Linked DNA regions of Homo sapiens: regions 2, 3 and 4 are each linked to region 1. Evidence: promoter capture Hi-C in 16 types of primary human blood cells and fetal thymus (Javierre and others, 2016). All regions are on one chromosome and are shown on one strand. The core of a region is centred on a gene start or on the middle of the fragment in contact, and the rest is flanking DNA. Distances in the headings are between cores, read along the strand shown.

Region 1 (6,270 bases), core at 3,493-5,992:
CAATGGCAGAGACAGAAACAGTATCTTCTGCAAAGTCTAAAATATTAACTATATGGTCCTTTCTAGAAATAATTTGTCAGTCCCTGAGCTAATGCAAAGACCTAGATTGAAAACTAAAATGAAAAGAATTTGATCGACTGGATATGTGGAATGAGGGAAGAAACAAAGGATCAAATCTAGACTTGGCTTGAGCAATTAGGTAGATATTTCCCGAGACAAAAAAGAGAAAGAGGTTTTGGGAGGTAAGGAATTAAGAGTTCTGTAACATACATAGGATATTACTTTTGAGGATTTATACCTTATTCCCTATTTATTAAAGGGATAACTTGCTCTACAGAAAAGCTCACTTTAAAAATGTTTTAAATTATTTTTAAATGTCTTTAGAATCAAATAGCCAATTGGCTGGTCTTACACTTTGGATCTTTTAATTTTGCGTTTTTTCAAATCAGGTTATATTATCTGTATGCTGAGGGGGGCAGTACAATTTAGTTTATAGTATAAAAATTATAAACTCTCTAGCCTTTGATTAAAACCAAAGTATTTACTTGTACTTTTTTTTTTTCAAAGAAATTCTTTAAATAGAGAGAGTGCCTTGTTATGTTGCCTAGGCTAGTCCCAAACTCAAGGCCTCAAGTGGTCCTCCCACCACAGCCTTCCAAGTAGCTGGGACTATACGAATGGGTCACTGCACCTGGTTTTTTCTCCCCAAGAAATTCTAAGAGGGAAAACTTTTTATTTTCCTCTACCTAGGATGCCTTTGAAGACTCCATTAAAGGGGCTGGAAGTGCTTTAAATGCCAACTTTACCAAGAAATGTTTAAACACTGTTAATTAATTTCAGCTGGCAAGAAAGAACACCGGGAGGGTACACTTTTTGCACTATTGCTGGCTCACTATTCCACTTTCTAGTATCTCTTCATATCCATCCACTTCTCTCCAGCTCATGGCACCACCTTAATCTAAACTATCAACCTCATCCATCAATAGCTTCCAACATCAATGCCTTGCTACCAAAAGCTTCCTCACTGCTCTATTTTCACTCTTGCCCCCTCCAATCCATTCTCCCACTGCAACCAAACAACTCTTAAAATATAAACTTGTTCCTATCAGTACCCTACCTAAAACATTTCACTGCCTTCCTACTCCATTTTAGGGTAAAATCTCAAAATCCTGATTATAGTTTAAAAGACCCTCTCCAGCCTATCTACCAAAATCCCCTACTGCTCTCCATTTTCATTCATTATGATCTAGGTACACTGGCTTCTTTCAGTTCCACATTCATCTATATCATCTCCTTCTCTTAAAATTTTCTCAAAGCCCTTTGTACTCTTTCTTTAGAGAACTTATTACAGTAATTGAACAGGTATTCACAAAAATATATATAATATGTGTCTTCATTTAGACTTTAAGCTCCTCTAGATAATACATCATAGTGGCTGGGCTCAATCACACTACACTGCCTGGGTTTGAATCCCAGCCCACTGAACCTGAGCAAGTTAACCTCCATTTTTCATTTCCCTTCATATAAGAGGTAGAGATAAAAATAATCCCTACCCTCATAAAACTGCTGTGAGGAATAAATGAAATCATATATGTAAAAGATATGGTGAAGAACCTGACATATGGCAGGTATTTATTAAATCTTTCTTAAATGACTGTTAAATAGCTTTATGGATATACCGGGAAAAATTGTCCCTGGTAAAATATGAACCTCCCCAAAGCAAATAAAATCATTTAAGTAAATATGATATTTTCTAATACTCAGTACCTGAAGAGATTTTACAAATCATTTAATTCAACTTATTTTCCTTACACATGGGAAGACGGGACTAAAGAAAGGAGACTAGCTCAAGATTACACAATTGATAGATGCAGACCTAGAATCCAATTCTAGGAATTCTTAGTCCAATAGACTGTTGACTAACTGGTATTTTTCAACTGTAAGTAACAACCAATTAATGACTGTAAAATAAATTTTAAAATGTTTTAAATGAAATAGTAATCCAAGTAGTGAGGGTAAATAATGTTTTGAGAAATTTTGTTTCAAGTGTATACATGTACTGTACACATATGTGGGTATGGTTATGTCGCTACAAATCAACAAATAGTTATATACGTATCTATTCTAAGGGGACTATATACAATGTGTTTGTCTATAGAATAGACACATTCTATACCCCTTAGAATAGATACATAACAACAACCCCAAAAGGCAAGTAATAACGGCAGAATGAAGAGATAAGAGAATAATGAAGGAGACTATTTACTCATGTGTTTTGAGGCTATTCCCTATAAGAATTCCTGATAAATGATCTTAACAATAAGTGAGAAATATTACCTGCTAGGAGATGTGGAGGTAGGGCTTGAATTTCCAACATGATGTTGGGGATATGACAAACTGACATCTTGTGGGGCATGACTACTTCCTAAAATGAAACAATTTGAAAAATTATTCTTGATAGAAAATCTAATTTGAAATTTTGTCTTCCCCACTTGAAATCACTCCAAAAAGGTAAACACAATCTAAAAGAGAAAAATCTCAAACTACTGGCCGGGCGCGGTGGCTGACGCCTGTAATCCCAGCACTTTGGGAGGCTGACGTGGGCACATCTCTCGAGGCCAGGAGTTCGAGACCAGCCTGACCAACATGGTGAAACCCCACCTCTACTAAAAATACAAAGAATTAGCCAGGCGTGGTGGCGTGCACCTGTAATCCCAGCTACTCAGGAGGCTAAGGCAGGAGAATCACTTGAACCTGGGAGGCAGAGGTTGCAGTGAGCTGAAATTGCACCACTGCACTCCAGCCTAGGCAACAGGGCAAGACTCCATCTCAAAAAAAAAAAAAAAAAAAAAAAAAAAAAAAAAAAAAAAGAATCTCAAGCTGCTGTAGACCGCTTTACGGCTTCATCGGGGTGAAAATTATAAGTGTATAATATCAGATAAGCAAAACAAAGCACTCCATAAATATCCAATCTGACCATAATTTTCTGATCTCCACCCTAAATTGTAACACTGGATACATGGACAGTTTCATCCTCACATGATCAAGAACCAAAATATATAAAAGTAATTACAAAGCAGCCAGGAGAAGTATTTTCAGAAAATAAACCTAGCTCTTTTCAGAGTACCCAAGCCCAGCTCTCTTAGTGATACAGTTTATGTTTTTTCACTAACCCAAAATGAAACTTTAAGCTCAGTTTTGAAATTCTAATTTCAAAATCCATGTGTCAATGTTACCCGTTTTCAGGGATATATAAAGTTTGCTATATAAAGTTTACTATTCACAATGCTTAAGAAAGAAGTTTCATCTACAAATAAGAGGTTCTTTAAAACTGAATAATAAATTTAAAAACAGCAGGAAACAATGCCCCCCGAACCTCATTGGGCAGTTACCTGATCTAAATTGAATTTTGATAGGCCTTCCATAAAGTTTGATTCCATTAAGTAGATTCATTGCATAAGGAACAGACACTTCATGTTTGAAATTCACAAACGCAAACTGCTTTGGTTTACCATCCTTATCTTTTGGAATTTTCACCTTTATTACTGGCCCAGCCTACAAACAAAAAGGTGTTTAGAATTTAAATAAAGCAACTAAGGGAAAATACTCAAATTTTACAAATAAGATATGACAAAGTTTAAAAACAACAGAAACGTAATCAGAAACTTCTTTTGAAAATGATGCACGGATTTCCATTTTGGCTACAGTAAACATCCTAGTTATGACTGAACATTAGATTTATTTGGGGAAGGGGGCCCATAAGGAACTGGAAACACAATCACTTTTGCAATTCACAGCACTGTATGGCTTAACATAGTGACCAATCGCCATTATTTTGCCACTCCATGAAAATGAACATTTATCAAGAACAAGAGAATGATTTTCTTTAACTAAAAACGGACTTTTGTATTGATTAATCAAACAATACCAGTTATTAGGGGATAGGGATGGGGGGAATAGGATACTCAGAATTTTTCACACTTTTTAATACAGCAACACTAAAATGCTGTTTTTCTACGGAGTACTTAACCATTTTATTTTACATATTTTAATAATGCTGCAATTTGATAAGCAAACTTTAGGGGAAAACAGACACAAATAAATTAAAATATTAAGTTCCCAGTCAGATAAACCAAAGACAAATTATCCTAAGGGGAAGATGACAACAGGAAGGATAAGAAAAAGCACTGCTCAACGAAGACCCTACACACACACTGTGTTCCCAAGGACCCCTGGATCTCTACCACGGGAAACCTGATCGAGGATCCCTCCACCACCTTTAGTCGTCACTTTCGGCCTAAACGAACCAAGATCTTCCAGGAAAGCGACACCCAGCGAGCGTTTCGCAACCCAGACCCGCCTTTCACCCCCAAACAGCCACCCGTCGGGTCCCCTGACGGCTACGAAAAGAAAACGGGGTGGCCGCTGGCCAGGCCCTAGGCGAGACGGAAAACGAAAGGCAAAGGGCCGAACCCAGCCGCTTACCTGGTGGAAAAGCTCGAAAAGGAGCTCCTCGGTCACTTTCGTTTCAAGGTTGCCCACAAAGAGAGTGCGATCCGCTTCCGCCGCCGCCGCCCCCATCTCAGCGTCGCCCCCTCCCTAACCTGGCCAAAAGGTCGTGGCCGACGCACCCACTGCGCATTCACGGAAGCCCCACGTCCTCACGCTCCCTGGCGTCACAAACGAAAACGCCCGTTGCGCTTGCTCTCAGCGGGCGACGACGTGCGCGGACGGTCTGCGCATGCTCGCCAGGATACCCCTCGTTAAAGGCAAGGCGGCTTCTGGCTCTTCCGCAGGCTCAGTTATGGGTTCCTGTGTGCTTAGTCATCGGGTCCGACACAGGCTGGACTGATCTGGGGAGCCGCGAAGGGCCTGCCTTCACAAAGGGACGTAACGCAAGTACTGCGGGCAGTGTTTGAATATGGCCCTGAACAATGTGTCCCTGTCCTCCGGTGATCAGAGGAGCAGGGTGGCCTACCGCTCTTCCCATGGCGACCTCAGACCGCGGGCGTCAGCGTTGGCGATGGTCTCCGGAGACGGCTTCCTCGTTTCCAGGCCTGAAGCGATTCATCTAGGACCTCGGCAGGCGGTGCGACCAAGCGTTCGGGCCGAGAGCCGTCGAGTGGATGGTGGCGGCCGGAGCCCAAGGGAACCAGATGGCCGGGGCCGGAGCCGCCAAGCCAGATTCTCACCTTACCCAATCCCTGCCGTTGAACCCGATCTCCTAAGAAGTGTGCTGCAACAGCGTTTGATTGCATTAGGAGGTGTTATCGCAGCTCGAATTTCAGTTTAAACGAACACCTTTCCTCTGGCCCTCACTTAGCTTGTGAACAGGCCTTTTTAAAATCCTTTCTTGGTGTAGCAGCAATCGTGTTGTTTTATTTTTAGATGGATGTATTTTCATTTAATACGTGGGAGTTATATGAATATGTCCTAGCACTAAGGGAAGTGTAACAGTTGATTGATTTAGGTGGTTTTATGCAGCCAGAACGATTGGATCAGGAAAGGTGTGGAAGGGATATTCTTAGGTCGTCACAAAGCTGAGCTGATGGGAGCACCCTCCCCAGAGGTCAACAATCCATTCGTTAACTCAGACACTTAACCTTTACCTTTACTTCTGTTGGCGAAAAAGAAGTGCTCCTTTTTATTACACTGATTTATCCTTCCATCTTTTCCTTGGCATTTACCATCTTCCATCTCCCCCTTCACTTTTTTCAGATATGTCTACAAACAGACTCCAATCTCAGTCGCACTAAAAATAAGAACAAAACCTAAACCTTACAGTTCTTTCAAATTATTAAATCAATTTATTATTCCTTTCTTTGGCAAAGGTTCCAAATTTTTACTTTATATTTGTAATTTTACTATTTGCATTCAGTCCCAGCGCATTAATCTGAATCTGCTGTCCTAAAATACACTGGTGAAAACATTACTTGTACAATCTCCTATCAGAAAACTGTTCATCTACTCACTGTAGTGCCCTCCTTGAAATGTGTGTTTGTTCATTCAACTAACAATATTTGGGGATCCCTGTAGTAAACACTGTATGAATTTTACACAGTCTGGCCATCAAGAAAGATCACGGAGTATATTCTAGATGGGGAGGCTACTAAGTGAATAGGAATCACCACGCTGGGCTGTTTATTAGGTACAGTAATAAACATAAGTACTGGTTGCAGTGACTTTTTTTTTTTTTTTTTCATCATAATACTGCACTATCCTGGTTCTTCTCTTACCTGGCTGATCACTCCTTATTTGCTGTTATTTTTG
Region 2 (6,053 bases), core at 737-3,236, 2.1 Mb after region 1:
AGAAAGGCATGGAATTCAAGCAGCAGGATGTAATTTGATATTACTGAAGCAAATGTCTATTATTGGACCAACCACTGCAATTCTTTTTTTTTTTTTAAACTAAGTGCTTGACAGGACCCAAGAAAAGAAGGTATCCTTAAGTAGAAACTGTGTTATGTTTTGTAACTGAGACTCATGCAAAAAGAATTGCCTGTCACATGCCAAACAATGCAACCAAAGGCAGGAGCAACTGCCAAGTCCCTCAAAATAGATGAAGTCTATCAAAATAAGAGAGAGAATGGTGTGAGCAACTTACCAATTTCACAGGACTGTAATCATGGCATTATGTCACAGTTTAATTGGCAGCATTTTTTCTTCCTTAGTTGTACATATAATAATAGTGCTTCTTACAACAAATACTAGCTTAGATTCAATAAAATACAGTACTTTAAAAAGAAGACGATAGCTATGGAAGACCAGGAATAGAGATTGAGCCTAAGAGTTATGTTTCTGAAGAAGAATCTAGAACAATCAAAAGAGAAACAATAATTGAAGATATAATTAAAGAAAACTTTCCAAAAAAGTACAGAAAGGGCAAACAGAGGAATGGACTCAGTTCACCAGGTTCCAGGTAAAAGTAACCAAGAAACACTCAAATCCAGAAATATCCTGACAAGTTTTTAAATTACAAGCAAATTTTTAAGTGTTTTCTTTGTACATTCAGAAACAAAAGAAAAAGGAAGGAAGGAAGGAAGGAAGGAAGGAAGGAAGGAAGGAAGGAAAGAAGGAAGGAAGGAAGGAGGGCAAGAAGGGGAAGGGGAAGAGAAGGGAGGGAGGGAGGGATGAAAATTGTGCTGACTTTTTTGTGTCTACTACAATGGAGCAGTAGCTGACAGAGTTTTTATATGGAAAACACTTAGATGAAAATTTTACTCACAAATAAGTTTTAGTTTTTGAGGACAGACAACCAAAAGAGTTCAGAATGTCTGCCACTCACATATTCTTTAAATCACTTTAAAATATATTTCAACTGCCCAAGTGATGACTTAAAATTACTCAAGAATGGAAAAAAACAGAGCGTCAAAGGACTAGCAGTGAGTGTTGAAGCCAATTACACACAGAGAGTTGGTCTAAAACAATTGTTTAACTATGGTTACAAGACAGAATATGTGTCAAAAATACCCAAGAACCAAGAGACATACAACATCAAAAAATAATGCATGAATAATCCGATCCCAAGTCCACAAACTAATAAACTTTCAAATAGGAAAGGAGAACAGAGGGAAATAAAAGTGTACAGAATTCATCCTACACAGTTGCGAGCTTAAAAATACCATTTTATTCTTGACTTTAACAACCAGAGAAATATTGATTGGTGCTCACATCCATTTTTAGAAACTCATTACGTAGGAGAGTAGGGGCCTGTCCTTTAAAAGATAAAAACCTCACTCCTGCCTCAAGGTATTTACAGTTTGAAGATCTCTAACCAACACACAGGATAGGTTTTAATTTGTTACAAGAATAAACAAATGTCAAAGTCCTTGAAGAATTTAAGGTTTTGTGCAGAACCAGTCCTCAGATGCTGTTTCAATCTTACTGCCCACCAGCATTTTCCATTCCTTCTGGTAAAGCCTCCTAAAACCTGGTATGAAAGGACAGCAGTTCCTGGTCACTGTGGTGCCCTCTGTACCTGACGGCAGGGTCTGCTTGATGTCAGCGTGCGTTGTCACAATCCATGAACCGGATTGTCCTTGTTTAACAGCATCACTGGTGTCACTGAGAATGAGACACACAAATTCGGATTGCAGGGAAGCTCTCACGGTAACCATTACACACACAGCACTGAGACCTGAAATCAGTACACAAATACCAGATATTTTCCCTCCAGAATTTAATTTAATGCTCACAATCACCATCCAAGTAGGCAGCATTTTTCCCATTTTACAGATGAGAAAACTGAAGTTTAGAAAGGGTGTTTTCCAGAATTACAGAGCCAGTCAACAGATGGCAGAGAGGGGTCTCCAAGCCAGGAATTTCTGGCTCAAAAGTTCACTGTACCTTACCACACCATTTTCTTAATTCAAAGAAAGAAGGTACAAGGAACAGAAATGGATATAATAATTTTATAATTTATTAGAGTACTAGTAAAGATGCTGCCTCTTTTACAAAATGATAATCCAATGAACTGAACTAATCACACTGTGCTAGTACCCCATTAACCCTCTCTAAAACATTCACAAAGTGGATACAGGGCTGCTCCAGGGCCAATGAGATTTCTCTCCAAAGTAAAATTCCCCTGGAGTGCTCTGGTCTCTAAGGCTTGATTAGCAAGTACCAATTAATGCGCCTTCAGTCCTCTTTGTGTCTTGAGCACTGAGGGCTAACCCTTCCCTCGCCGACAAAGATAAGATTAAATCATTCTCACCCTAAAGAGTTCAAGTTCTAATGCACTGCTCCCTCCCAGGGCCTTGAATAGAGAATAATCTTTAGGACAAAAGAATGCATCTCTAATAGTGAAATTTTAGACGTCAGCAAAGGAGGTATTTTTCAGTCACACATAAGACACACACATTTTCCATGTCACACCTTATTGAGACAGTGGTTCCTCATCTGGTGCCGAGGACCGTGGCTCACCTCGGTGTCACCCAACTTAACGTCTTGCCCCGCCACAAATCACGGGTACAGAATAACCAGGGCGTGCCATGCCCGGGAGACTGGTCCAACCCCGGCGCCCAGGCCTGCAATCCCTGGGAGGCGTGGGCTGCCGCTGCCAGCACCCCGAGTCTGTCGCTGCGTCCCCGCGGCTCCCCCTCTCCGGGATCCGCCCGACCAGCCCAGGCGCCCGCAAGAGGGACCACGCCCGCCCGGAGCCGCCCGCGTCCCCGCCCCCCGGCACGCACCGTGTCTGCCAGAGGGCCGCTGCTGCCACCTCCCGGCCGCGTCTCCCCGAACCGCGCTCAGCCGCCACGCCCCAGAAACCCTCCCGGAGGACGCTCGGGTCCGAGTCCACTGGGCCTGGGAGGTGGTGACTGTCCTGGCAGGGGCTTCCTACGGCAAGAATCATCTTCCTTTCGGGTCACTCACGCAGCGCACCCAGACTGGAGGTGGAGATGAGCGCTTCCAGCACCGACCTCCCCCAGGGTTCCAACGGACACGTGCTCCACGCCCCTTCCCAGTCTTGGGGATCCGAAAAAGCCACACAGCCTGGCCCCAGGCACAACGTATAACAACTAGGACCCCCAAATCTGGGCAGGCCGGCTCCACTTGGGCCATCCTGGCTGCCTGAAAGAATGCGAGTTGGAGCAGAGATCTTTGAACTCAGATTCAAATGTCAGACCCACTGAATTAGAATCCCCTGGGCAGAGGCCAGGGAACTATTTTTGCAAAGTTCCCCCAGGTGATCCTAATGGTCAGGCAGGTTGGGGACCCTCCCAGTTACAAAATCTAGACGACGTTTTCAGGTTATCCACAAATGCACAGAAACACACACCCCTGGGTCTATGAAAAGGCAACAATATGAAGTTGTGCGCTTGAAATGAGAAAGATTTCATGACAGCTCATCACCTAGCCCGGGAGTTTCTAACCTTGTCTGTTTATCATGCCCTTAATGTCTCAATGCTTTTTTTCACAGTAACCCTAGGCCTAAAGAAATACCTGACTGTTCTGTGTATTAAGTAGCTAGACCCAAGTAAGAAGTATTTCTGTCCTAACAACTAGTAGCCACTAGAAAAAATATTGCATATAAACTAGAAAAAAAAACTTATCTCATTCTTAGCCACAACTTCTCACTAACGGGATGTGTGTGCTTGTTGAGCACTGCGCAACTTCTCAGACCTTGGAATTGGATTAGACGCTGCCGCCCTCATTTCCTATTCTATATTGATTTTCCCATGGTACGTGTTTTATGTCACAGCAAATGACAAAAACTGAAAATGTAGCTTCAGAAAAATATGGTTTTATCAAAAAACATGTAGGGCAGGCTAGGCGTGGTGGCTCACACCTGTAATCCCAGCACTTTGAAAGGCCAAGGCAGGTGAATCACTTGAGGTCAGGAGTTCGAGACCAGCTCAACCAACATGGTAGTAGTAGAGAAACCCCATCTCTACTAAAAATACAAAAATTAGCTGGGCGTGGTGGCATGTGCCTGTATTCTCAGCTACTCAGGAGGCTGAGGCAGGAGAATCTCTTAAACCTGGGAGGCGGAGGTTGCAGTGAGCCAAGATCACACCACTGCACTCCAGCCTGGGCAACAGAGTGAGACACCATCTCAAGGAAAAAAAAAAAAAACTGTAGGGCAATCTAATATTGAGTCTTCAAGCTATCCTGCACTACTTAGTAGTTTGCATGGAGCCCAACAAAAGTTGAGTGTTGCCTTTGGCCTTTAAAATATCTCAAAGAGCCCCTCTGAATCCACAGCAGCTCCAAGAACACCTCAGCACAGAGTTTGGGAACATGCATGGAACTCACTCCTGCTCCTCTCCTCATCCCACACTCCCCAGGGTTCACAGTGCTCCTCCTGCAAGCATCTTCTTTCTTGCCAAATGCTTTCCCACCTCAGCACTTTGTGCCCTTGCTCTTCTCTCTGCCTGGAATGCTCTTCCTCAGGTCTCCGCAGGCCCAGCTCCTTCTTGGCCTCCAGGTCTTGGTTCAAAGACCACTGTGCTCCCTAAAGCCTCTTCAGGCCTCCCACCAAATCACTTCTATCCTATGGGCCTGTTTCCTTTTCTGTATAGCTTTTATCACTATCTGAAGTTATCCTGCTTAGTTTACTTACTTATTTTCAAGCTTCCCCACCAGAATGTGAACTTGATGAGAACAGAGACTTTTGTTCATTACTGTTTCCGCAGAACCCGCAACAATGGTTAGCAATAAGTAGACAATAAACAATTGTTCAATGAATGACTGCAGCCTCTACACTCAGCTCAGGGAGATAAAAGGTAAGAAGAATGTGCTTTACACGTGCTATCCCCTTGGATCTTCACAACACTCTTTGGAAATAGATACAAATAGACATGATTAACCCCATTTAATAGATGAGAAACTCACATTGAAAGAAGTTAAGTGTTCAAAGCTGCACAGCTGAAGTGGCAGAGCTAAGATTCAAGTTCATGTCTACTTGACTGCAAAGGCTGCTTTTCATAAAATCACATTAACATCATGTTGGATACCTTCGATACACACAATACATTTTTTTTTAAGACGGAGTTTCACCCTTGTCACCCAGGCTGAAGTGCAGTGGCACAACCTCGGCTCACTGCAACCTCCACCTCCTGGGTTCAAGCGATTCTCCTGCCTCAGCCTCCCAAGTGGCTGGGACTACAGGCATGAGCCACTACATTGGCTAATTTTTGTATTTTTAGTAGATACAGGGTTTCATCATGCTGGCCAGGCTAGTCTCAAACTCCTGACCTCAGGTAATCCACTGGCCTTGGCCTCCCAAAGTGCTGGGATTACAGGCATGAGCTACCGCACCCGGCCAACATTTATTTTTTTTAAAAAAAATGTTAACCACATTGCCTCCCATTATCCCATTATCCACCTAGAAAAGCTAATAATAACAATGGCAAAGTCAAGAAATGTAGCCAAGGGGCCAACAGAGCCCCAGAGTCCTTAGAGAAACTGGCCACATCGGCATTTCCCCACTCGAGGACTCAGCCCCTGCCTCCAGTAGAAAATAGCAGAGGTGCCCACCTGGGAAGGCCTTGCCTTTATTATTCCTCTGGCCATAGCTGGCCATACCAAGGAGACCTCTTGCAGACATATCTTCTGGCCTGGCCCATGTTACTCTGTAAACCTAATGACATGTGTAACTCTCGTTGCTGATTACAACTGCCGAGCTCCTGTTGATCATCATGACAGGTAAGAGGCAAACACACATGCAGCTGCAATCAAGGACATGATGAGCACCTACCCTGAGCTCTGGATGGCACTGGGTGCTCAGGTTGCCCACATTTTAGACAGTCGCTGATTGGAGCAAGAATTATTAGGCCACACTCATCTGCATCCCCCAGGAAATGCTGGGTTGCCTTGACCCCCTGGGAGGAGTTATGAAGGGTCCCCACAGGCTAGAGCTT
Region 3 (6,412 bases), core at 213-2,712, 2.2 Mb after region 1:
GAAAAGGGTGTAAATTCTGCTTATGTTAATGCACTAGGGAGCATCAAGATGCTGCTCAGTCTCTGCCTGTAGAAGTAGAAAATGTCTTTCAGGTGTCCAGCTACACAGCAAGCTGGTCCAATACTGAGCAGTACCTTTCTGAACAAGCAATACTACTGGGCCTTAAATTCTTGTCCCCTTACTCACATGAATGTATACAAAGTCTAAAGTAATGCTTTGTAAATTAAAAAGTGCTTGTGAGAAGCATTTGAAAAATCTTGGCCAGGCGTGGTGGCTCAAGCCTGTAATCCCAGCACTTCGGGAGGCCGAGGCGGGCAGATCACCTGAGGTCTGGAGTTTGAGAGCAGCCTGGCCAACATGGTGAAACCCCATCTCTACTAAAAATACAAAAATTAGCCAGGCATAGTGGCGGGCGCCTGTAATCTCAGCTACTCGGGAGGCTGAGGCTGGAGAATCGCTCGAACCTGGGAGGTGGAGGTTGTAGTGACGGGAGATCACACCATTCCAGCCTGGGCAAAAAGAGTGGAACTCCATCTCAAAAAAAAAAACAACAACAACAAAAAAAAACTTTATCAGTGCTTTACACATTAATAACTTTTATGAATTTATGTATTTTAGTTCTGTACAAATACCATTAGATATTACATGTAAGTGAGTACACTGAGACTGAGATACCATAGATTAAGGAAGAGGCTGTAGCTAAACCAGTAATCCTAATCTCCTGACACCTTGTCTGTTTTTTTTTATGCCACCACACCACATACTGTTTTATACTCTACGACTTATGTACCTGTTTTTTAAGGCAGGCTGTACCTCAAAGAATCAAGTCTCTTATCCTTGAACAAATTACCTACTTTCTTCGAACACTGCTGGCAAAGCTTTAGACCAAACCTATTTTTCTGCCATACATTACATTCCTAGGCAACATTCCCCTTTTGTCAGTCATTATTTACTCAAAGAATAAAATCTAATTTTAACATTAGCCTTGGCCATACCTAATCAGAAAGAAACTTGTTGTGTACTCTAGGACAAAGAAAAATGCTTTAAACCATTCATTGTTTTGGACTGTTTGTAAGAGTTGACATTGCAAGGTAAAACTTAACACACACCCAACCAAGACAACAGATCCTTTCATTCTGAACTCCCATTTAATTTCTCATTCAAGGCTCAAAGCATTCACACTGTGTCCGTAAGTTTTCCCATTCTTTATGTCTACATTTGCTGAATACTCTTTCATCCTTATTGAAGGGCTGAAATGTCATCAGTTTTTCTCTCACCTTTATAATTGTGCCCATGGCCATTTGGATTGTTGCATTTCCCAAACAGTTTCAAGTTTTCTTCATCACTTAGAAATTTACTGACCAAAAAAAAAAAAAAAAGTCAGCATGACACAAGTATCACATTCAAACCCCCTTCTCTGTTCCTTATATTTATTATTTGTACTGATCTTTGAAAAGTTTCCCAATTTATTACTTTAGCTCACCAAAGGGAGAGTCAGAAATCATGTTGATTTTATTACTTACGTATACGTCACAAACCATGGCATATTCCCTAATTAGAAGATTGTACCATACAAATTAGCACAAACAAACCTTAACTTCAACCCCCTTGTTCCACAGCAACTGATCTGCTCATGGGCCTTCCACTTTTCAATTCAACATTACTGAGTGCCTACAATGTAACAGGCAAGTGCTGAATGAAATAACAGCATATAATGATAAACATAGATGGTGATCCGCAAAGTGGCTTACTATCTCATTTCTCTCAGAAGCTAAACTACTCATCCAGAAAAAATAATTTAAAAAAATTACATGACCTGGTAAGTCTCCTATTTAGCAATCTTGCTTTATACTATGTCTCAACTACTGCCTCATGAGAACTTTACCAATCTGTTGAGGAATATTCCAAGCAGGTGAATTTTTAAAATTACAATCTTTGGCTGTCGTCTCAGACAGAAAACAAATTGCTTAATGTTTATACTTATACCCATCCATTCAATTTCGCATCGTCTATGAGACCTTACCACCCTCAGGTGTTTAAGCTTATTATACAACCCCTTTTTTTTGAGATCCTCTTTATTATTCCCCCCAATGTAGTTTGGATGTTTGTCCCCTCCAATTGTCATGTTGAAATGTGATCCCCAGTGTTGGAGATGGGGCCTAGTGGGAGATGTTTGGCTCATGGAAGTGGATCCCTTATGAATGGCTTGGTGCCCTCCCTGAAGCAATGAGTGAGTTCTCGCTCTATTAGTCAATGGGCGAGCTGGTTGTTAAAAAAAGCCTGGCACCTCCTCTCCTCTCTCTTGCTCCCTCACTTGCCCTGTGAGTTGCCTGCTTGCTCGCCCTTCGCCTTCCACCATGAGTGGAAGGTCCCTGAGGCCTCAACAGAAGCAGATGCTGGTGCCATGCTTCTTGTACAGCCTGCAGAACCAAATAAACCTCTTTTCTTTATAAAATACCAGTCTCAGTATTCCTTTGTGGCAATGCAAAATGGAATAACACACCCCCACTTTCTCCTGCTCAGCCACTTCTTGTATTTAGAGTGCTAAAGTCTTTTGCACAAAATTTTCTCAGTGTACCCTCCACAAAATAGGCCAGATTGGAAACCCCATACAAGATCCCTGATGCATCCGTTACCTAGCACAAGCCCTGACAAGCACGAAACAAAACCTGGTTTAGCGAATGGAGGGATGAATCCTGTTAGATAGCGATGGTCATCCTCATTTCACAGACGACGATACGGAGGGCCAGAGGGTGGAGCTGGTTAGTGCGTGGTAAAATTCCTCAAAATCAACTCGTCAGTGCATGCAAGCAGTATGTATGATCGGGATTCAAATCCCAACTATGCTGCTTCGGAAACTGAACGTCTGGGCTCATTTTTTTTTTTTTTTCTCCTAGCCACTAGACCACCAGGGACTGGGTTCATCCAGTCTTTGGTAAAAAAGGGGCTAAAATTTGCCTTGTAATTACATTAGATATGGTGGCCAATGCTCCTGGCATACAAGATTAGCTAACATTTACTGAGTGTCTACGCCGCGCCAGGTACTGTGTAACATAGGCGAGTTTAACACTGCTGAGTTTCACAGCAACCCTGTGGTCTACACCAAGGGACTCCTAGGGGCAGAGACGTTTCTTCGAGTCGCAGAACCGGGTGTGGGCCCCGCACCCAGACGTGGGCCATCGCCCTCCGCAGTCGGCTCCGTTAACCATCAAGCTCCCCCACCCCTCCAGGGCTGGGGACACTCCAGCCCCCATCAGGATGCTGGAGGCCGTCCGAAGCCCCACGAAGCCGACCAGCGCGCGTCGCCCCAGCAGCCCCCGCGCCCCTCCCGGGCCCGACGTCAGCACGCCCGCCGGCCCCGCCCCGGTGACGTTCCGGGGCCCGGCGCCCACCGCCCGCCGCTGTACCTGTGTGCACACCCTACCTGTACAATCGGTGGCTCGCGCTGAAGGAGATGCGGCGGGACACTTGTGCCTGGCAGCGACGGCCACCACCTTCCGTGCTCATCTTCCCGGCGCTGTCTGCGGTGCTCGGCCGGCACCTCCTCCCGCCGCGCGGCCGGTGCCTCCTCCCACCGCGGCTGCGCAGTGCGTGCCAGACGCGCCCCTAGGAAGTGCGTCTCCGCTTCCGCTCTGGCCAATCCCGGCCTCGGGAGACAGTTAAGGGTGTCTCTCGCTATCTGAATCTCTTCGGAGAGCAAGATTTGGGATACCTAAGCATACCCTGGAGTGGTCAGGGTGGGTGGGGACCCTGTGTCCTTGATCTGTTTGCCCCGCCTGAGGTCACGCCACGTAGTTAGGGCCCGTCTGGGCACACTTTGGGTCCTGAGTGACCTCTCTGAGCCTCCTCTCCCACTCTCTCCTGTAAAGCTCCAGTGACTGGTGACTCAATCGGATGAACCCCAGGGCCACAGTCCGCTTTATAGACCAAAAGGAGCAGGAATTGAGCCAGGCGGGCGTGGTGACGCACTCCTGTAGCCCCAGCTATTGAGAAGGAGAGGGATCACTTCAGCCCAGGAGTCCAACCTGGGCAATAGAGCAAGACCCTCGTTTCTCTTTTTCTTTTTTCTTTTTAATTATTATTATACTTTAAGTTCTAGGGTACATGTGCACAACGTGCAGGTTTGTTACATAGGTATTCATGTGTTATGTTGGTTTGCTGCACCCATCAACTCGTCATTTACATTAGGTATTTCTCCTAATGCTATCCCTCCCCCAGCCCCCTACTCCCTGACAGGCACCGGTGTGTGATGTTCCCCACCCTGTGTCCATGTGTTCTCATTGTTTGATTCCCACCTATGGGTGAGAACATGCAGTGTTTGGTTTTCTGTCCTTGTGATAGTTTGCTGAGAATGATGGTTTCCAGCTTCATCCATGTCCCTGCAAAGGACATGAATTCATCGTTTTTATGGCTGCATAATATTCCATGGTGTACATGTGCCACATTTTCTTAATCCAGTCTATCATTAATGGACATTTGGGTTGGTTCCAAGTCTTTGCAATTGTGAATAGTGCCACAATAAACATACAGGTGCATGTGTCTTTAAAGTAGCATGATTTATAATCCTTTGGGTATATACCCAGTAATGGGATGGCTGGGTCAAATGATATTTCTAGTTCTAGATCCTTGAGGAATCGTCACACTGTCTTCCACAATGGTTGAACTCATTTACACTCCCACCAACAGTGTAAAAGCATTCCTATTTCTCCACATCCTCTCCAACATCTGTTGTTTCCCAACTTTTTAATGATCGCCATTCTAACTGGTGTGAAATGGTATCTCATTGTGGTTTTGATTGGCATTTCTCTGATGGCCAGTGATGATGAGCATTTTTTCATGTGTCTGTTGGCTGCAGAAATGTCTTCTTTTGAGAAGTGTCTGTTCATATGCTTTGCCCACTTTTTGATGGGGTTGTTTGATTTTTTTTCTTATAAATTTGTTTAAGTTCTTTGTAGATTCTGGATATTAGCCCTTTGTCAGATGGGTAGATTGCAAAAATTTTCTCCCATTCTGTAGGTTGCCTGTTCACTCTGATGGTAGATTCTTTTGCCGTACAGAAGCTCTTTAGTTTAATTAGATCCCTTTTGTCTATTTTGGCTTTTGTTGCCATTGCTTTTGGTGTTGTAGTCATGAAGTCCTTGCCCATGCCTATGTCCTGAATGGCATTGCCTAGGCTTTCTTCTAGGGTTTTTATGGTTTTCGGTCTGATATTTAAGTCTTTAATCCATCTTGAGTTAATTTTTGTGTAAGGTGTAAGGAAGGGATCCAGTTTCAGCTTTCTACATATGGCTAGCCAGTTTTCCCAGCACCATTTATTTAATAGGGAATCCTTTCCCCATTTCTTGTTTTTATCAGGTTTGTCTAAGATCAGATGGTTGTAGATGTGTGGTGTTATTTCTGAGGCCTCTGTTGTGTTCCATTGGTGTATATATCTGTTTTGGTACCCATACCATGCTGTTTTTGTTACTGTAGGCTTGTAGTATAGTTCGAAGTCAGGTAGCGTGATGCCTCCAGCTTTGTTCTTTTTGCTTAGGATTAATACCGTTTCTTTAAAAAAAAATTTTTAAAGAGCAAGAATTTGAGAGCACAAATAGGACCACGTGACAACAGTCCTTTGGACTGTTGTGTAATGATCCTTACTAAGGGAAATTCTAAAGCCATTCTTATCCACAAGCATGTATGGACCCATTTATTACTCTGGGTTGGCATAGTGTGAATACAGACACCCCTAAACACATATTAGCAATTCTTCTGCCAGTGTAGACACATTGAGAGTGAAAGGATCTTGTTTCCTCACATCTACTCACAAGAGTAACCAAACTACACACAGTTCCCAGAATCATGTCACCTCTTGCTTCCATTCACTCTTTCACTAAATATTTATTGGGCATCTACTATGTGGCTGGCATTGTTCCAGGTACTGGAGAGGACAGCTCCACTCTATATGAGAAAAATCATCACTGTATATGATGAAAAGCAGGACAAGTCACTGATTAATAACAGGCTTGGAAAAGTTTCCTGTAAAAAGAAAGATAAAATCATGGGGGCGATAGAAATAAGCTCAAATGGTGATTTCCCTCAAATATCTCCTATTTACAGCTATATATTCTGTTTGTTCTGCATTAAACTACTAACAGGTTATTTAGCAAACACTCTCCATACATTTTCAGATGTTTGTCTCATCTACCCCATTGTACTGTAAAGAAAAAACTTCAAATAACATTTAGAGATTTTCGAGATAGAGACTGTTTAGTTCAATACTTTCACTTTACAGATAAGAAAATACAGCCACAGATAAGTGAATTACTATTGCGAGATCACTCAGAACAGAAACATTATTTCCCAGGTATGGACTGCCTCAGTGATAAATACTCTCTAACAGTCAGTGGTTACACAAATAGTTGCTCATTCC
Region 4 (5,912 bases), core at 3,413-5,912, 2.3 Mb after region 1:
TTCAAGACCAGCCTGGGGGACATGGTGAAACCCTGTCTCTGCTAAAAATACAAAAAAAGTAGTTAGGTGTGGTGGCACACGCCTATAGTCCCAGCTACTTGGAAGGCTGAGGCAGGAAAATTGCCTGAACCCGGGGAGGCAGAGGTTGCAGTGAGCCCAGATCATGCCATTGTACTCCAGCCTGGGCAACAGAGTGAGACTCCGTCTCAGGAAAAAAAAAAAAGAAAAAAAGAAAAAAATCTGACCATTAGTACCCATCCTATTGCAAAGCATAGAGAGATGAAATCAACTCTGGACTATGTCATGTGATAGTTCACTCGCTGATTCTCAACTAGGAGGGCATGCAAAGAGGGAAGCAGAACATAATCATAGCAAGGGACACTTCAAACTACCCTAGAGATTCTGAAATACACTTCCCTCTGTGCAAACCAGCAACTTACTATAGAGAGGTCCCAATAACAGTGGGAACAAGGTCTAACCCATGGGAATACTGGAGTAGGAAAAAAGTTGAGAACCACTGATCCAGCTTCTGTTTACCATTTCTACTAACTAGCCAGTAAGCTGCTAATCGGTTATCAAAAATTTTTAAGGGGCCAGGTCCAGTGGCTCACGCCTGTAATCCCAGCACTTTGGGAGGCCGAGGTGGGTGGATCACTTTGAGCTCAGGAGTTCAAGACCAGCCTGGCCAACATGGTGAAACCCTGTCTCTACTAAAAATACAAAAATTAGCCAGGCGTGGTGGCAGGTGCCTGTAATCCCAGCTGATTGGGAGGCTGAGGCAGAAGAATTGGCTGAATCCAGGAGGCGGAGGTTGCAGTGAGCCAAGACCACACCATTGCACTCCAGCCTGGGTAACAAAAGCGAAACTCCATCTCAAAAAAAAAAAAAAAAAAAAATTGTAAGGGCCTCCTATGTACCAGGTACTGGTCTAGCTGGCAGGAATATAGCAGCAAATGAGAAAATCACAAGCCCTGCTCCTAAAGAGTTTAAGTATTTCTTATATATGTAGCTCTTACACTTACAAGCGTGTAAGGATCTTCCCAATTATTCAAGCATTCCTAGGCCTCTCCACAAGGAAGATAACTAAGCCTGCATAATCCTTCATATTTACACTCAAGCTATTAAGGTAATGTGAAAAGGCTGTTGATCTGGTGAAGAGGGTGAATAGACAGGGTGAAGAAAAGTCTGAGGCCAGGCAAGTGGCTCATGCTTATAATCCCAACACTGGGAGGTTGAGGTGGGAGGACTGCGTGAGCCCAGGATTCTATACCAGCCTGGGGAACACAGCAAGACACCACCTCTACAAAAAAAAAGTAGCTAGGCATAGTGGCATGCACCTGCAGTTCCAGCTACAAAAAGAAAAGCCTGAAAGAATGAAAGATTAATAGAGAATAGAATGACTGATCAGCTTAGTGACCACAAGATTCCAGTATAAAATCTTCAGTTAAAAGCTATCAGGTAAGGTTAGAATCCACAGAACCCTACACATTCATAATTGTTCAGGTAGAATTTTTTAACTCTCCATTGTAAATAAGTACAAAGAGCAGGGCCATATGCGTCACAGCCATTATCTTTATGCCTGGGTCTAGATTTACGAAAGAAGGAAGGCTTAAGGACTCACAGAACTGAATTTATCCTTAATATACCAAAGTATTTTTAAACAAAAGTTGATGATTCTGAAAAAGATGAGAATTATTTTAGTTCTCAGAGCTGCAACTTCACCTTGAACTGCTGGGTAGCATTTTCCTTTTGGTCCCCCGGTAAGCATCTTCCATCTGTTTTTCCAGTTCTCTTATTTTCCACATATCTGATTCCTCCTGAATCTAGAATTTTTAAAAAGGAAATAAAAATAAGTTACTAAAAATAACTTTACATTACAGAAAAGTAACTAACTGGCCGGGCACAGTGGCTCACACCTGTAATCCCAGCACTTTGGGAGGCCAAAGCAGGCAGATCATGAGGTCAAGAGTTTGACACCAGCCTGACCAACATGGTGAAACCCCGTCTCTAATAAAAATACAAAAATTAGCCGGGCGTGGTAGCATGCACCTGTAATCCCAGCTACTCAGGAGGCTGAGGCAGGAGAATCGCTTGAACCCTGGAGGCAGAGGTTGCAGTGAGCCGAGATTGCACCACTGCACTCCAGCCTGGGCGATGGAGTGAGACTCTGTATCAACAAAAAAAGAAAAAAAAAAAAAAGCAACTAACTGAAAATACAATCTGACTAATTATTGGGCTACAGACTGGGCTATGATCAGGAACCTGGAAAACAAATTGGTTTCTCTAGAAAGTGGCTGAACAGTCCAATCCAGTAAATCTCAAATATGTGGAAATCTTCCCCAATAGAATTTTTAAACCGCTGCACAGACAAACATCACCTTATCAATCTTGCAATTATGCTGCGATTAGCAAATGATAATGCCACATTTCCAAAATGCAATATGATTTTAATTATATCATCTCAATTGAACCTTAAGCAATCTCATGAGGAAAATATAGCAGCTACCATTATTACATTTTACTGTAAAGAAACAAAAGCTCAGAGATTTTAACAAAGTCAAAAAACTAGTAAGGACAGGTCTTTAAACTCCCTAAGCTAAATCTCTTCTGGTAATATTATAATTTTTGTCAAAAATAAAATAAAATAAAATAATCAGTATGGCTGCTAGGGAATTTCTTGAAAAGCAGAATGTGATTACCCAAAGAACACATTTTATTTCTAAGTCTTCCTGCATAATTTCATTAGATCTGTGCTAGATTTATCTTTTTCTAGCTACCATTTTAAATCTAAGCTTACTATATAACTAGGGGCAGGTTAACATAATTGCATAGGCAGCTCGGGTAACAGTTTTACCCTCGCCCATAATTTTAAAAATCAGGTGATATGATAATAATAATATGATCAAACCAAAAGTAGTACAGTTTACTGAAGAAAACTAAACCAGGGGCCTTGGCCCTCTTTTCATTATATGTGCTCTCCTAGGTGACCTCATCTACTCTCATGACCTCTTATCATCAACCTATACATCAATAATCCCGAAACCTTTATGTCCAGCCCCAACTTTTCTCCTCTACTCCAAGTCTGAATTTTCAACTGCTTGGACATCCTATAAGCACCTCACCATCAACATGTTGAAAACCAAACTAATTACCTTTCCTATCATAATTGTCCCATTTTTTGTTCTTTATCTCAATTAACAGAATTGTCATCATCTACCCAGTCACATAGGTGGTTACACAGTTGACCTTGAACAACAGGAATCTCAACTGTGCAGGTCCACTTATCCTCAGATTTTCTTCCACCTCTGCCACCTGTAAGATAGCAAAACAAGTCCCTCTTCTTCCTCCTCAGCCTACTCAATGTGATTTTCTTAATGAAATGTTGTTTTCTCTAGCTACTTTACTATAAGAATACAGTATATAATACATGTAACATAAAAAATATGTGTTAATCCACTGTTTATGGTATCGCTATGGCTTTCAGTCAGTAGTAGGCTATTGGCACTTACATTTTGAGGGAGTAAAAAGTTATACATGGATTTTCGACTATGCAGGGGGTTGATGCCCCTAGCCCCTGCATTGTTCAAGGGTCAACTGAATTAGATTCCATTCTTATCATTATAATCTAATTAGCCACCAACTTCTTTGGATTCTATCTCCTAAATTCCTCTTCTTCATCCCTGCTGTCACTAATTTCATGCGAACCCTCATCATCTCTCACCTGTAATACTGCAATTGCCTCCTAATTACTCTCCCTTCTGTATCTCCCCATCTGATTCATTCCCTACCCAGCTGACAAACCATCTTTCTAAAATATAACTATGATCATGCCACACCCTGTTTAAAAACATTTGATGGCTTCTTTATTGCCTAGAGGAAGAAGTCTCAGCTCCAAACATCACAATCCAACTCTAATTACCACTGAGGCCTTATCTTCTGCCACTATCCCCTACCTTCCCTGCTTTCTGGATAAATTTCTTGCCATGCCCCAAGTGATTAATGCTCTTTCTCGTTGCCATATTAATGCATGATGCTGTCTATCCAGAATGATATTTCATACCTGGTAAACGTATACCTATTCAAGAACCAGTTCAAAGATCAGCAGCTGAAATACCACTAATTCTGTAAAATCTTTTCTAATTCCCCAGTGTAGATTTTATTATTTCCTCCTTAGTGCTCCAAAGCACTTTGCAAATATCTCTGTTATACAGTACTTATCAAACTGTATTATAATTATCTATTTTATTCATCATTTTATTTCCTACTGTGTACGGAAGCTTCCAAAAACTAGATGACAAGAATATTCTTTGTATCTCCCAGTTGTTCCAAAATAATGCTTGGCACACTGCTTGCCTTCAGTAAGCGTTGAGGAGTAACTAGGTTGTACCTCCCACCTTATTGTGAGCATCTGTGTGCCGGATGACATTCCTCAGGAGGACCTTCCCCAGTGGAATCCGGGACATTCTTCAATCTGAAATGAATCAACAAATAACGTTTAGTAATAATTTCTGTTATTACTTTATCTTTTCTTGAAGTTTTATAAAGAAGCATATGAGGTACAGGAAAGATCACTGAACTAGAAGTCAGAGATTCTAAAGAATAGTTTTCCCTTTACCATTAAAAGAGGGAAATGCCTAAACACACTAATGTGAGATGAAAGGAGATAATGTACATTAAAGTTCTTTGAAAATGCACAAGACTACATAAAATTAAGTGCTTTCATGAGCACCATTTTATTTAATCCTCATAACTACTTTTTATATGAGGCAAGTATCTCCATCCCTATTTTGTAGATGAAGTTCCCTTAAAGCTGTAACGTCCCAAGCCACATAGTCCCAGGCAAATGATGTATGTCACTGTCTAAATTAAAAATCAAACCTCCAATCCCAATATAGTTTGCACTGAAGCAAATACGTAGATTTGAGAGTGTCAGGAACCACGGGTGTCAACAGTAACAGAAACTGATTACTCAAAACATCAAATGCAAAGATGTCCTAAATTTCTCCATTTGGGGGCATTTTATTTCCTACTTGCTACGGAAGCTTCCAAAAACTAGATGACAAGAATATTTTCGTGTGTAGCTAGCAGGAGCTTTGTGCAACCACCCCAACGCTCACTCACCCCTTGATCCTGAGGAAATCAGGCATCTTGCTAGTGAGACGAAGAACCACTCCATTACAAGATCTCCTCCGACCCAGGAAGCCAAGGAGTCAGGGCTCAAAGGCAGCTCTGCAGCTTCACCCGAGTCCTTCGTGAAAACGCAGCCTTCCCACTGGTTACTCTGCCCTCACCTGTGGCCCAGGCCACTGCCGCGTTTCCCCCAGCCCAGACCGACAGGCAGATCTCTCTCCCGGACTGAGGCCGGAGGCTGAGCCGGGGCGGAATTCGGACAGCCCGGTTGACCTGGGCATTCCCCGCTCACGCTCCTCTAGGACGAACCCCGGGGGTAAGTTTCACTCCCCAGAAAGGCTGGGAACGCTTTGGATGGCTACGGCCTTCGGTTGGGCCCCAGAAAGTATCTAGGGAGCCTGAAGCGGGGGTTGAGGTTTCCAAGTGGAAGACAGAGGAAATATCCCCATCTTTGTCACCGGGATCCCTGTTCCCCAGCGGCCTCGGAGCTCCCGGTAACCTTCCCTCCAAACGCCCTCCCCACACAAATACACACAAACACACCCATACCGTGCGCCGCAGCCTCGCGTGGCGGGGGGTAGGGGGGAAGAAGTGGTTTGGGAGAAAAAGGAGGAGACTTCCTTTTCAGGCCGGAAGTCGTGCTCCTGAGAAATCGTCCCACCAACAGGCAGCCCAGAGACTCCCACAAGGGAGGGTTTTCAGGACACTCCAGAGGTTGACGGGTGCAGAAGGAAGGCGGGCGCTTTCCTGGAAGAGAAGTGGGTCAGGCCCAACTGAAAAGC

Evidence for each region. Contacts are between HindIII fragments. The CHiCAGO score rates a contact against its expected background, and 5 or more counts as called.
Region 2: a fragment that was not itself captured here is called in contact with the fragment with the promoter of C11orf71 in region 1 in 1 of 17 cell types (activated CD4 T cells); the score reaches 6.2 in activated CD4 T cells.
Region 3: a contact is called between a fragment that was not itself captured here and the fragment with the promoter of C11orf71 in region 1, in 4 of 17 cell types (activated CD4 T cells, non-activated CD4 T cells, total CD8 T cells and 1 more). The highest score is 9.2, in activated CD4 T cells.
Region 4: a contact is called between a fragment that was not itself captured here and the fragment with the promoter of C11orf71 in region 1, in 1 of 17 cell types (fetal thymus). The highest score is 7.2, in fetal thymus.

What each region holds. Positions count from the first base shown.
Region 1 is chr11:114,398,983-114,405,252 of GRCh38, reverse strand. C11orf71 (chromosome 11 open reading frame 71) reads left to right here and starts at 4,742. Exons shown (of 1, transcript NM_001271562.2): 1 at 4,742-6,270. The coding sequence starts at 4,922. The coding sequence ends at 5,293. RBM7 (RNA binding motif protein 7) reads right to left here and starts at 4,587. Exons shown (of 5, transcript NM_001286045.2): 1 at 4,486-4,587; 2 at 3,393-3,555; 3 at 2,338-2,425. The coding sequence starts at 4,581. RefSeq lists enhancers at 4,415-4,957, 4,855-5,244, 4,958-5,500. The HindIII fragment of the contact is 8,162 bases long and covers 1,019-6,270 here.
Region 2 is chr11:112,287,022-112,293,074 of GRCh38, reverse strand. All of the region lies in intron 1 of LINC02762 (long intergenic non-protein coding RNA 2762), which reads right to left. Among named protein-coding and RNA genes, the nearest start is that of LINC02762, 19 kb to the right of the region's middle. RefSeq lists an enhancer at 2,151-2,899 and a silencer at 2,696-3,005. The HindIII fragment of the contact is 5,561 bases long and covers 1-4,766 here.
Region 3 is chr11:112,223,539-112,229,950 of GRCh38, reverse strand. It overlaps PTS (6-pyruvoyltetrahydropterin synthase), which reads right to left and starts at 3,523. Exons shown (of 6, transcript NM_000317.3): 1 at 3,425-3,523; 2 at 1,278-1,357. The coding sequence starts at 3,507. RefSeq lists silencers at 2,591-2,885, 3,243-3,652. The HindIII fragment of the contact is 1,163 bases long and covers 881-2,043 here.
Region 4 is chr11:112,074,126-112,080,037 of GRCh38, reverse strand. NKAPD1 (NKAP domain containing 1) reads right to left here and starts at 5,739. Exons shown (of 6, transcript NM_018195.4): 1 at 5,122-5,739; 2 at 4,395-4,471; 3 at 1,723-1,823. The coding sequence starts at 4,463. RefSeq lists enhancers at 5,247-5,296, 5,357-5,476, 5,887-5,912. The HindIII fragment of the contact is 765 bases long and covers 4,280-5,044 here.